Linked DNA regions of Homo sapiens: region 2 is linked to region 1. Evidence: promoter capture Hi-C in human tissues and cell types (Jung and others, 2019). All regions are on one chromosome and are shown on one strand. The core of a region is centred on a gene start or on the middle of the fragment in contact, and the rest is flanking DNA. Distances in the headings are between cores, read along the strand shown.

Region 1 (7,174 bases), core at 1,125-3,624:
CAGCAAGTCATTTTCATGTGAAATGAGAAAGAATTCGATGTCAGTCCTGTACTTCTCTAGAAACAGGAAGCTAAATCTCTCAGTACAATATTACCTTTTCTGGACACTTCAGCAGACCCTGAATCCTTGTTTAAAGGGGGCATAAATCCCCATTCTCTGTTTTATTAATATTGTTTAGGGATAATTTGGTAACAGGAAATTTAGCTTGACATGGCAACTTAGGTTTTCCAGGACACTTTCATCCCTATAGCTGCCTTTTCCCACCCACCCCAAACCGAATTGCCTGTGTGAAATATCAGGCTGTTTGCTAAGGGAGATGAATCTTTCTGTGTCTGAGAAGTACACATAGTTTTCTAACTCAGCATCTCTCTTTTTTCAGCACCTGTTTTTCTCTCTAGAGGAGCTTCATTTCTACTTCTGCACAGGGAGGATGAACAAACCTTTAATTAAATTACTTGAAATTTCAGTGATGATATTTTTAAAAATGATTATACATCTATTCTTTAAATATTTTCCCTTAACTGCTAGAATGAACTCTCTACATTTCAATGGTGGATAATATAATATAATAAAGCATTTATTAGAATATGTTTAATGAGGCTCTGATTTCTATGTTACGAAAGCACGCAAAGTGTCCAATGCTTATGAATAACACGAAGGAGACATTGTTAAGCTTTTAATAAGGACTTTTCTTTTTGTAAATCCACAGTGCCTACAACCTATAACATAGATTCATATTTTATGGCCAAAAAAGTAGCATGACATTGGAAATAATACAGAGACTGGGCATTTTTTCTCATTAAAAATCATAGGCTTAAATTTACACAATGGATATTCTCAACCAGTACCCTACACGGAAGAGAAAGCTGTTGCAGAAGTACAATATTCAGGTAGGGTAAGAGTGAAAAAGTCTCTTATGCATGTTCCTATATTGCGTGCTCTGTCCCCATTTAATATCTGCTAGACAAGTCACAAAGGCCTCCCAGGGGATAGCAACAGATGATCTCTTTGAAGGTTTTCCTCAGTTCTTGACTCCGGAGTGCATAAATCAGAGGATCGATGATTGAATTACACATGATCAGTATGAGATACAAGTTAAAGTGAGACATGAAGCACACACAATATGGATTCTGAGGACAAGAGATGTAGAATATTAAGTGGAGGAAGAATGGGGCCCAGCAGACAACAAAGACGCCAATCAGGATGGTCAAGGTAATCGCTCCCTTCATATTGGCACCTTGGCGGATGGCACCAGTGCCGGGGAGGACAGCAATCCTCTTAATGTGAAGCCTGGCCATCAGGAACATGTGGACATAGAGAGAAGCCATGAGAGCCAGCATGGTGAAGAACATGGTGATGAGGCAGATGATGACAGCACTACTATCTGAGTAAATGATGAACAAAATGCCTGAAACCGTGCAAGCTGCCCAGATACAACTTATGATGATCCCAACCCGCTTAACTGTCATAATGTTATGGTACTGGAGAGCATAGAAGATAGTAAAGTACCTGTCCACTGCAATTGAAAGCAGGCTGCAAATGGATGCAAGCAAGGAGCTACAGATCACCGAGTCAATGACATTATCAATATTCACTGTGAAACTCTGTGCATCCGTATCTGTACTGTTTAATAGGGTGATGACAATGGTTTCTGATCCATTTGAAACGCTCACCAGCATATCAGCCACAGCCAAGCTGCAGATGAAAAAGTACATGGGTGAATGCAGATTCTTGTTCTTGGCTATTGCCACAATCACTAAGATATTCTCCAACAAGCTGATGACACCCAGAGTCACAAACACCTCAGGAGAGACAAAAAGTTGCTCGTAGCACCCTCCATCAGAGTAGCCTTTTCCAAGGGACTCACTGGCATTGCTGTGCAGTCTGTAACTGCTGCGGTTCCAGAGGTGCAGAGAAGTGTGCATCCCACGGTGGGTGGAGTTCACCATGCTGGCAGGAGAATTCCAGTGTCCCCCTGAATTGATTTAACCTCCTGGGTCAGGGAGTCGTCTCAGTTATTTCCTCCAAGTCTTTATCTGTCTGAAAGTTGTGAGGCTAAAATTGCCATGCCTGCTGTGAGTAAATGTCACAAGTCCAGAGCTTGACATGGAGTTTTTAGTCTCTTTTAGGTACGACTCTAATCATCATCACTTTAAAATCTTGGGCTTCAAAATATTCATTCTCAGTTGAAAGAGTCTGCTCTTTGCTTTCTTGTTCTCACTTCTGCTTTAACTTTAATCTTATGCATTCAAGTCTGTTCAAAATAATTTTCCTTGAAGCTGCCATGCCATTGGGAGACGAATCTGTGCGCACATGCTCACATCGGCTGCCTCTCGGAAGCTTCTGTTTCCAGCCTGAGCGTTGCTTTGAGTGTTAGGGGCTGTAGGCGCCAGCTGCTGATTTTTATGATGTGTGGAGAGAAAAAAAACATGTTCACGGTGGCTCCTCCTCTGCTTCCTTCTGACCAATCCCAATGCAATGGGAGTCTGTGAGACAGGATTATGTTTCAGAGACACAAATTGCAGGGTGACACAGATTCAGATGCAGAAGCTCCTGAAGTCTGAAGTCGAGAAGCAAGCCGGATAAGAGACTGAATTTCCCTTTTTAAGTTTTCAAGGGAAACAACTTGATCCCTAGAGGCCATTCTGTGATATCAAAACAAGCTATCTTCAGGCAGCCAGGTTCATTCTTATGTAAAAGACATCATGTGTGTGTGTAAAATGAAATGGAAAGTATACTGTCTTATGTTCCTGAAACAGATACTCTGCTTTTTGGCTAGGATACTGAATTTATTTACCTTCTTAATTTTTTGTTTTTATTAAGAACCCAGCCAGTAGTGGTTCAGTTAAAATACCTGAAAAACAGAGAGGATATTTAATGATACAGATAGACATGGTATGGCTGGAAGAACTATGTAGGTAGCTATAAATTATGAATGGGTTCAAAAGGGGTTGATTTTAATGCACTAATATCCCATATTTCTCTATTGAGGAGTTTGTGTTATAGCTGAAAAAAGGTGCTTTTTATTTACAATATTTTAAACTCATACGGCATTAATGTAACTATGCTTACACTGAACTCAGGAAAATAATAAGCTGCATTCTGTTTTTTTTTTTTAAGCAACTTTTTTTTAAACCTCCAGAGTTTAACGTATCGTAAGTTGAACCGACAAATACCTAGTAACTTTACTTATCAAGCCAAGACTGGTGATACTAGTTAGTTATTGAAGTTTCTGAATATTTTGCTTAAGGTGGTTTGAAAGATGGCAGCAAAGTTACTTTCCAAATTAACTGAACAACAGATTATACAAAATTTTGTATATTCTTTTCTTCTATGATTATTTTTGGTTTTAGTGCTCTATAGTTTGTAGCTGCTTATTTCAGGGTTAATTCTGAATCTCAGTTACTTAGGTTGGGAATGTATCCTCTTTCCTTTTGTGACAGAGACAATACTAAGTATTGTTCCTGAGCATTGAGATAAATTAACGTCTTCCATCCACCTTTGGAATTGGGTAGGACCTTATGACTAAATTCTAGCTAATGGCATGTTGACAGTGGGGCTCATCGCATTAGCTCTTTCATAATTTTACACAAGTTTTCTCTCCTGTCTTTGAAATCTCATGTTACAGGTGGCAGGACCATATCATGAAAGGAGCCTGTCTCTTGAATGATTGCACAGAGCAGAACTCACACCTCCAACTCCCTTCCCCTGTATTTCTGAATGCCTAATCATCTGTATATTGTAAAATGCTGGAATGGGCTTTCCTGAACATCATGAGCTGGAAATAATCTTACCTTCCTCTTGCCTTATTTTTTCTCTTTTTAAAAATTGACATATAATTCACATACCAAAAAAAATCACCTCTTTAGTAATTAAATGGATTTTTGGGGGAATATATTCACAGAGTTGTGCCATAATCATCACTTTCTATTTCTAAAACATTTTCATTATCCCATTAGCAGTTGCTCCCCATTTTACCCTTTCCTTATCCTCTAGGAACTGCTAATCTACTTTCTGTCTCTATCAATGTGCCTATTTTAGACATTTTATATGATTGAAATAATGCAATATGTGGCCTTTTGTGGCTCACTGTTTTCATGTAGCATAATATTTTCAAGGTTTGCTTACACTATAATGTGAATCAGAATTTGATTTTTAAAAAATTAAAACAGGATCTTGCTCTGTCACCCAGGCTGGAGTGCAGTGGCATGATCATGGCTCACTAGGTTCAAGTGATCCTCCTACTTCAGCCTCCTGAGTAGCTGGAACTAAATGTACCTCCACACCCAGCTAGCTTTTAAAAAATAATTTTGTAGAGATTGAATCTCATTATGTTGTCCAGGCTGGTCTCAAACTCTTGGGCTCAAACGATATTCCCATCTCGGTTTCTCCAAGTGCTGAGATTACAGGCATGAGCCACTGTGCCCAGTTTTGATTTGTTTTTATGGCTGAGTAATATTCCATTGTATGTATACATTTATATATATATATATTTTTTTTTTTTTTTTTTTTGAGACGGAGTCTCGCTCTGTCACCCAGGCTGGAGTGCAGTGGTGCAATCTCAGCTCACTGCAAGCTCCGCCTCCTGGGTTCACGCCATTCTCCTGCCTCAGCCTCCCAAGTAGCTGGGACTACAGGTGCCCGCCACCGCACCTTGCTAATTTTTTGTATTTTTAGTAGAGACGGGGTTTCACCGTGGTCTCGATCTCCTGACCTCATGATCCGCCCGCCTCGGCCTCCCAAAGTGCTGGGATTACAGGCATGAACCACTGCACCTGGCTGTATACATTATATTTTTAAATGTATTCATCAGTTGAGGAACATTTGGGTTATTTCCAGTTTTGGCTATCACGAATTATGCTGCTAGGAATATTTATGGACAAATTCTTATGTGACAGATGATTTCAATTCTTTTGGATACACAACCAGGAATGGAATTGCTGAATCATATGATAACTCTGTTTCTTGTTTTGAGGAACTGCCAAACTGTTTTCTGAAGTGGCTGCACCATTTGACATTTCCAGTTAGCAATGTATGAGGGTTCAAATCTCTTCACATTCTTGCTAGCACTTGCTATTGTCCATCTTTTTTATTTTAGCCATCATAAGGATATGAAGTGAACTCTCATTATACTTTTGATTTTCATTTCCCTAATGCCTAATGATACTGAAGATGATTTTACATCCTTACCAGTTACTTGTGTAATAATCTTTGGAGAAATGCCTATTCAAATCCTTTGCTCATTTTTAATTGGATTTTTTTAAATTATTGAGTTGTAGTGGCTCTTTACATATTCTGGGTACTTTTGCCATTTCAATTATTGATAGTGTTCTTGAAACCACAAACCTTTTAATTACGATGATGTTAAATTTATCAAATTTTTTTGGTTGCCTGAGCTTTTGGGATCATATTTAAAAAAGGATTGCCTAACCCATGGTTATTAAAGTTTACACTTATATTTTGATATCTTCTGTTTGATGAGAAATTGTTCTCATAATTTCCTTTAATTTTTACGTATAGTTTTCGCTAATCCTTTGAACATGTTTGAACTGATTTAAAGGCTTTATATATTAAGTGCAACATCTAGACTTCCCCAGGAATAATTTCTGCTGACTTCCTTTTCCTAATGTGTATGGGCTATATTTTCTTATTTATTTGCCTGCATTTTATTTATTCATTTTTGTTAGAAACGGGGAATTTTGAATAACACAATCCAGCAACCCTGAAAATCAGATTTTCTCTCTTACCCAGGGTTTGTTGTTGTTGTTGTTTGTTATTGTTGTTGTTCAGTAATTTTTCTTAAATAATTCTAGAATGTCTGTATTCTTTGTCTTGTATGATCAATGAGGTCTCTGCTCTGATAGCTTATTGGTCAGCTGATAAGTGGACAGAGATTTCCTTAGATGTCAGGAACTAACATCTCCCCTAGTCATTGCTGAGAGACTCTGTGTCCATGATGGGCATGCCTTTGACACTTAGCCAGGCACTGGGCAACTCTGCCTTGGCCTTACCTTCTGCTTACACACAGCCACAAAGGTCAGCCAGAGGTGAGAAGTCAAGACCTTCTTAGTTTTTGTTGTTGTTGTTGTTGTTTCTGATCATAAGCACAGTCCTGCATGTTTGTACGGCTTTCTAGATTCTCAGGAATATATTAGAGTTTTAATAAATTCCTATGGACATCTCATTTTCTTGAGCTTTTTCTTTTAGGCTTTTTGAATAGCTGATTTTTTTTCGCCAACTTCTATCCATTGCCTTAGGCAGCCATGATGTTAAGCAGTTGTTCTGATTGTTTCCAACAAATGTCCCTGAGGAAAAGACTGTTCTCCGTGGGTGAGTTCTGAGTTAGGTCAAATAAGAAACCCCTGCAAGTAGAGTTTGTCAGGAAACCAACAGATAGGTCAAAATAATGATGGCATCTCTGGTAACGGGAATGGAGCTTTGAAGAAGATCCAACCCCATTTTGCACCCTCCATTTCCTGCTAGACTGATGCTTTTAAACATTTTTATAGGATGTTAGTTGTCAAAGCTACTGCAGAGCTGGTGAGTTTGGAATGGGAAAATATGTCTAGTTAAAATGCTGCAAGTTTCACTCTTCTTACTTCAATTTAGCCATTTTCCTGAATAAATTTACCTTGGGTTATTTGAAGTATTGGTCAATTTTCAGAGTTCTGAAAGTGTTAATCCTGACAAGCTTTGCAAGTGCTCTAGTTGTTTTAACCGATGAGAGAATTTTCAATCATCCTGATGCTCTCATTTCCACTCTCATCTTCCATCTATTGCCTTTTATCTGAAAAAAGATTAAATTATATTAGATTCATCTATGGCAATTTTCTTCCTTAACAGACTATCTAATAAATGATCAAATAGTTATTTCATACTTATTCTAAATCCTATATAAACATTGCATATAAAAACAGAATAAAAGAACTGGTTAAAAACTTGAATAAAATAAAAATGTTAATTTAGAAATAATAGGTGAAATTAGTAATAAAGAACAAAATTAATTACTCCCTTAAAATTTTTTTCCCATAAAAATGTTTTATTTATGAACAAAAGGATCACACTGAAGTCCCAGAAAATTACATACCCTCAACATCAAAAATTTAATCACTGGGTGTAGATTTATAAGATCTTTATTGTAAGGTTAATTGTGCTGAAAAGTTGATCTCGAATA
Region 2 (6,604 bases), core at 1,201-3,700, 310 kb before region 1:
GATGCTCCTGTCCCCAGGCTTTGCCCTGTGGGACCCATACTCAGGCTATTCAGTAGGGAAATTGGGCAATGTGGTTCTGTTTATGAATAATGATTGTTATATAACTTATCTTGTTTTCCTTGATTCCTTGACTTCCAGGGAATTCAAATCAAACTTTTTTTGCCACCAAACAATAAGTATCTTAAGACTCTCCCACCTTTTTCTTTTTCAGTGCTTTCATCTTCATTATTCTTCTTCATAACATGGCTCCTGTTTATTTATTTCGCATATTTTAAAATAAACATTTAAATACATACATTAAGTATCTTTATATTTTAAAATGCTTTACTTTTTAAAGAGGAAACAATTACATAAATAAAATTTCCAAAAGTAGAAAGTGAATATACATTGAGAAGTCTCTCTCTCTCATTCCTGCCCCTATATATTGGGTTTTTGTTCCTGCATGCCTTGCTGATCTTGCCAGAGATTTTTCTTCTTTGAGACAGGTCTTGCTATGTCACCCAGGCTGGATTGTGCAGCCTTGAACTCCTGGGCTCAAGCTATCCTCCTGCCTCAGGCTCCTTATGCCAGAGATTTTTTAATGCATATAGAAGAAAACAGAAATTTATCTTATTTTCATCCCTTCTTTACATAAATGGTAGCATTCCAGGTACAGTGATCTATGCATTTTATTTTACATGTAACTATAAATATGTATACAACCATGAGAGATTTTTCTAAATAAATGCACATAAATACATAAGACCTTTCTCTTCTTTTGGGAGTAGATAGAATAGTAGATAATAGTAGATAGCAGAACCACAAATTGATGAATGATGAACCAACTATAAGCTATATTCCAAAGTTCAATCAAAATAATTACTGTGTCATCTGTTGTGTTGGATGGTATATATTATTACTTGCCTTCTTAATCCTCACAATGAAATTGGCCCCATTTTAAATTCTGGAATCAGTTTATTTACTCATTGCTTTAGGCTTACTCATCACCCCTCAGTTTACCACCCACAGTTCCCAAGTCAATCCTGAATGATGTGAAAACCATCTTCACATTAATGGTTAATGGTCTTGAATGACTCAATCTGCTGTAGGCACAATTGCCAGTGTGCCTGGGGTAAATCTGCAGAACCAAGGAAGCATAGGCTTTCCGTGTTGCTCATCCATGACTGAGATGCTGGCTCAGGCCCTCCATTTGTCCTCCAGTTAGTCCTCTCTTTAAGACTGGATCTCTGTCTTGAAAGCCTTCCATATTTTCCCCTAGTTAACTTTGACAATCTTTTTCTCAATGTTTGCCTGAATTATCTCTATATTTTCAGCTGTGTACTAGAATCCGGTTCAAAATAGATCCTCTTGGAATCACATTGTTTACAATCCCTTTCCTATGTCTTATCACTACATGGAAACTCTTGTTGCCATATCTCAGATAGTTGATTCAACCCCCCATGCACACTGCTAAGTTAAATCTAAATTCACTATTCCACTATGAATACTCTAGTGGAATCTTATTCACTATTCCACTATGAATTTAAATTCACTATTCCACTATGAATATTCTAGTTTGTACTATAATGATTTGAATGGAGAAATTATCACTAAAACTAGTTCAACAGCTGGGTGTGGTGGCAGTTACCTGTAATCCCAGCTACTCAGGAGGCTGAGGCAGGAGAATCTCTTGAACCTGGGAGGCAGAGATTGCAGTAAGCCAAGATTGCAGTACTGCACTCCTGCCTGGGCGACGGAGTGAGACTCCATCTTAAAGAAACAAACAAAAAACCAAACCCCCCCCCCCGCCAAAAAACCAAAAAAACCTGAAAACTAGTTCAAGTTCTCTGTTCTTGGTCTTCTAGATCTGTTTTCTTTACATTTTCCTTTTAGTCTGGCACACCATGAAACCAGGCACGCCTTACTCATCAAATTTGAATATGTGTTGTGTTTATTATTTTTGTGGATCAGACAGTAGAAGAAATATTGTTGAACAACCTAGTTGCATTAGGGTTAAATAAAAAATTTTAAAAGAATATGTAATTTTACTGACTTTGAAATCTGTAGAAAGTATTTCAAAGAGAAAAGTAAAACTAGCATAGAGTTGTTTCTCAGATCACTGGCCAATGAGTTGCAGGGTGGCTTTAATAATACTGGTGGACTCTTTCTTGGATTACAAAATTTTGACGATTACAGCTGGCTCTTCTCTGATTATACTTTCAAAGACATTCACTCTATTTCCTTTTAAATAATAGATGAACTGTATTAGAAAAGAATTACTCTGAAACTAAGGTACCTATTAATCCAGGGGTGTCCAATCTTTTTGCTTCCCTGGCCACATTGGAAGAAGAATTGTATTGGGCCACATGTAAGTAAAATACATATAACATTAATGATAGCTGATGAGAAGAAAAGATTGCAAAAAAATCTCATAATGTTTTAAGAAAGTTTAGGAATTCATGTTGGGCCACATTCAAAGCTGTTCTGGGCTGCATGTAGCCTGCAGGCCATGGGTTGGACAAGCTTATATAAATCAATTTCTTTTCCAAGTCTTTCAAAAACCTCACAGTCAAAGTGAGGTTCACCTCTTTTGACAACATCTTAAAAATAGAAACATTGTCAGACCTGGTGCAGTGGCTCAGACCTGTAATTCCAACACTTCGGGAAGCTGAGATTCGAGCCCAGGAGTTTGAAATCAGCCTGAGCAACATGGCACAACCCCATTTCTACAAAAACAAACAAACAAACAGACAAACAAAACACAAAAATACAAAAATTAGCTGGGCATGGTAGAGTGTGCCTTTAGTCCCAGCTACTAGAGGGTTGGCAGGGGTAGGAGGTTGTGCCGGGATGGGAGAATCCCTTGAGCCAGGAGGTCGAGTCTGCAGTGAGCAATAATCACACCACTGCACTGCAGCCTATGTGACAGAGAGGGACCCTGTCTCAAAAAAAAAAAAAAAAAAAAAAAAAAATTACATGATACATTTTAATTGCAGATAAATACTGTATCTGGCGGGCTTAAGTCTATCAACTGTTTATTGCACAAGAATAGCCCTAACTGATGAAATATTTATGTGGTATAGTCACAGATACTATTAAATAGGGATTTATTTTACAAGTAATTTAAACATCAGAATCATGAAATCAGAGATAGTAACATTACAGGAAAGGGGTCCGGGTCCAGACCTCAAAAGAGGGTTCTTGGATCTCGCACAAGAAAGAATTCAGGGAGAGTCAGTAAAGTGAAAGCAAGTTTATTAGGAAAATGAAGGAATAAAAGAATGGTTACTCCATAGACAGCAGGCCTGAGGGCTGATGGTTGCCCATTTTTATGGTTATTTCTTGTTGATATGCTAAACAAGGGGTGGATTATTCACGCCTCTCCTTTTTAGACCATAAATGGTGACTTCCTGACATTGCCATGGCATTTGTAAACTCTCATGGCCCTGATGGGAGTGTAATAGTGAGGATGACCAGAGGTACTTTCGTGGCCATCTTGGAGATTTAGCCGGTTTCTTTACTGCAACCTGTTTTATCAGCAAGGTCTGTATCTTATGCTGACCTCCTATCTCATTCCGTGATTTAGAATGCCTTTACTGTCTGGGAATGCAGCTCAATAGGTTTCAGCCTCATTTTATGTAGTTCCTATTCAAGATGCAGTTGCTGTTGTTCACATGCCTCTGACAGTAAGGACCAAGGATTTTAGTTGAAATGCAATAAAAGCACATGGCTCCATGCTTATATTTCACATTATCCTCTAATTAATTGTACATGAAGTTGGAGAATGATGTGTGGGAATAAATTGATCTACTTTGTGATTTTCCCTAAAATTTTAACTTAATTGTAGCTAACAGGTATTTTATCACATATACCATTTGTAGCAGACTGTTTCCTGTAATTATTCAAAATATGATTTCCCTCTTTATGCCCATAAAATGGAGAGATAAAAGTGATTTTTCTTAAAAGGAGGCTTAGAATGTACAAAAATGTACCTTTCTTATTCAGTGCTCTGAAAGGAGGCATTTTCTTCATTAACAGCATAAAATTATAATTCAAGGAGGAAATCTGATACAATGATTTAGAAGTAAAAGAAGCACATTGATTCTCCAAATCTTTAGCTTTTTGTTAGCACTCTTATAATTGCTGTTAAAAGAGCAATTTAGCTCTTAGAAGTGCTGGGAGATAATGCCTTTGTTAGCTGAGAGGCAGGAGAATGCAGTCAAATGGTGACTGTGAATTAGTCTAGGCAGGTTTCTGCTAGCAATCCGGGCTGTATTCAGGTCTGGCTTTGGAAACTCATTGCATCTCAGGTTGCCTATTCATTCACAGGGGAAGGTTGGCTTCATGGGGCAGCCGTGTTGGCACTCTTGGAAGATACAGCTGAAGTGCACGGGGCTTTTTCCTCCTAGGTGCTGACTGAGTGCAAAATTGCAGGCTGTGCTTGGACCACACAAATGCTCGTTCTCACAGCAACCTCTTGTGTGTTCTGAGTCTAGCTTCTATATAAAACCTCAAAGTGTGTGACTGAAATCCTGCTTGGGGAAGAGAAATGTCAAACAAAGATTACATGGAGAGAGTAATTTATAGAGTGGCTGCAGATGGGAGATGAATACAAGTGAGAGAGCCATCGTGGATTTCCTCCAAGGTTAGAAGTGATGACTCCGGAGATCAGACTCCAGGTCACCTGCTCTGCTCATTATGCGCTGGATCTGTCGGAGGCATCTTCTGTTGGAGGCTTAGTCACCTTCTCTTAGTCAAGTCAATAATTATTTTCTTCAATAGATGTTTTATATGCAACAGATAGTTTCTAAATGCCCAGCATTGAGATGGTTGCTGTTAGGAGATAACAAAGAAAAATCAGGTGCAGCATCTAATCTCAAGCATCTTGCAAGACTATTGAAGAGATAAGACAATTAAAATATATGAAAAGACAGCTTGTAATACAATATTTAAATGAAGTTGTGATAGATGGAGCACACCACAGGAATTTAAAGAGATAAGTGTTAGTTAGATGAATTTTTTTTTTTTTTTGAGAGGGAGTTTCGCTCTTGTTGCCCAGGCTGGAGTGCAAAGGCGTGATCTTACCTCACCACAACCTCTGCCTCCCAGGTTCAGGTGATTCTCCTGCCTTAGCCTCCCAAATAGCTGGGATTACAGGCATGTGCCAGCACACTCGGCTAATTTTGTATTTTCAGTAGAGACGGGGTTTCTCCATGTTGGTCAGGCTGGTCTTGAACTCCCAAGCTCAGGTGATCTGCCTGCCTCAGCCTCCCAAAGTGCTGGGATTACAGGTGTGAGCCACCATACCTGGCCTAGATGAATTTTAAGAGATGACTTTATGGGACTAACCTCTGTACTTTACAGGATGGATGGGATTTGTGTGTGAAGATGGGGTGAGTAAATAGGGTAGTTGGGTCAGCCCAGCCCTAGTTGCCCTGTTCCCACTTCCCCACATTCCAGCCCACTGATCTTGCCTCCTACGGACTCAGCTTTAACCCAGTTTCTGAGCCACTCTGAATGGGCCATTTCTGAACTTTTACCTGCTGCAAGACTCCCAGGTCTTTTTTGCTGCTGCTCAGCTACAGGATCCGATGCCTTGTTGATGACTAGAATGCTCCCTTATTTTAAGGTTCACATGTATTGTGGGTTAAATTATGCTTCCCCCTTTTGTCTGAATATGTTGAAGCCCTAACCCCCTGTACTAGTGAATGTGATCTTACAGAAATAAAGTCTTTGAAAATGTGATCAAGTTAAGATGAGGTCACAATGGATTAGGGTGGGCCCTAAATCCAATGACTCTTTCCTTACAAGGAAAAGAGAAATGGGGAACTTTGGACACAAAGATATGCAGAGAGGAAAACATCATATGAAGAGACAGAGTCACACAGGGGAGAAGGCCGTATGCAGATGGAGGCAGATTGGAGGGATGAAGCTACAAGTGAAGGAATGCTGGCTCCCACCAAAAGTGAGGACAGAGGGAAGGATCGTTCCCTAGAGCCAGTAGAGGGAGCCTGACCCTGTTAACAAGAAATTTTTGACTTCTAGTCTCCAAAACAATGAGGGAATAAATTTCTGTTGTTTTAAGCCACCTGGTTTGTGGTAATTTGTTATTACAGTCCTGGAAAACTCATGCACATAGATTTAGAAAACAAGAGCTGCTTGCAATTTTCTTCCAGCACTCACTTAGCTTACATAACCAGAACTTTGTTTTGGTGGCTGTTTCCAGTAATCATTTTATATAGCATTGATGCGATCAGGAATAATCAAAGCAATCAAAACAGTAGACTGGTTAAAATAATGGTAGTTTTGCATGTTCTCACTCATAAGTGGGAGTTGAACAATGAGAACACATGGACACAGGGAGGGGAACATCACACACAAGGGCCTGTCAGGGGGTGGGGGGCAAGGGGAGGGAGAGCATTAGGACAAATACCTAATGCATGTGGGGCTTAAAACCTAGAGGACAGGTTGATAGGTGCAGCAAACCACCATGGCACATGTATACCTATGTGACAAACCTGCACATTCTGCACATGTATCCCAGAACTTAAAGTAAAATAAAAAAATAAAAAAAAATGGTAGTTTATCTCTGCAGTGTTTGCTATGTAATCATTAAAATGAGGTA

The links. Contacts are between HindIII fragments. The study calls those that stand out against the background at their distance.
Region 2: a contact is called between a fragment that was not itself captured here and the fragment with the promoter of MC4R in region 1, in 2 of the 25 tissues and cell types used here (small bowel and spleen).

What each region holds. Positions count from the first base shown.
Region 1 is chr18:60,370,401-60,377,574 of GRCh38, forward strand. It overlaps MC4R (melanocortin 4 receptor), which reads right to left and starts at 2,375. Exons shown (of 1, transcript NM_005912.3): 1 at 662-2,375. The coding sequence starts at 1,949. The coding sequence ends at 951. The HindIII fragment of the contact is 8,670 bases long and covers 1,507-7,174 here.
Region 2 is chr18:60,063,380-60,069,983 of GRCh38, forward strand. No RefSeq gene overlaps it. Among named protein-coding and RNA genes, the nearest start is that of LINC03111, 58 kb to the right of the region's middle. RefSeq lists enhancers at 3,083-3,619, 3,939-4,490. The HindIII fragment of the contact is 4,514 bases long and covers 194-4,707 here.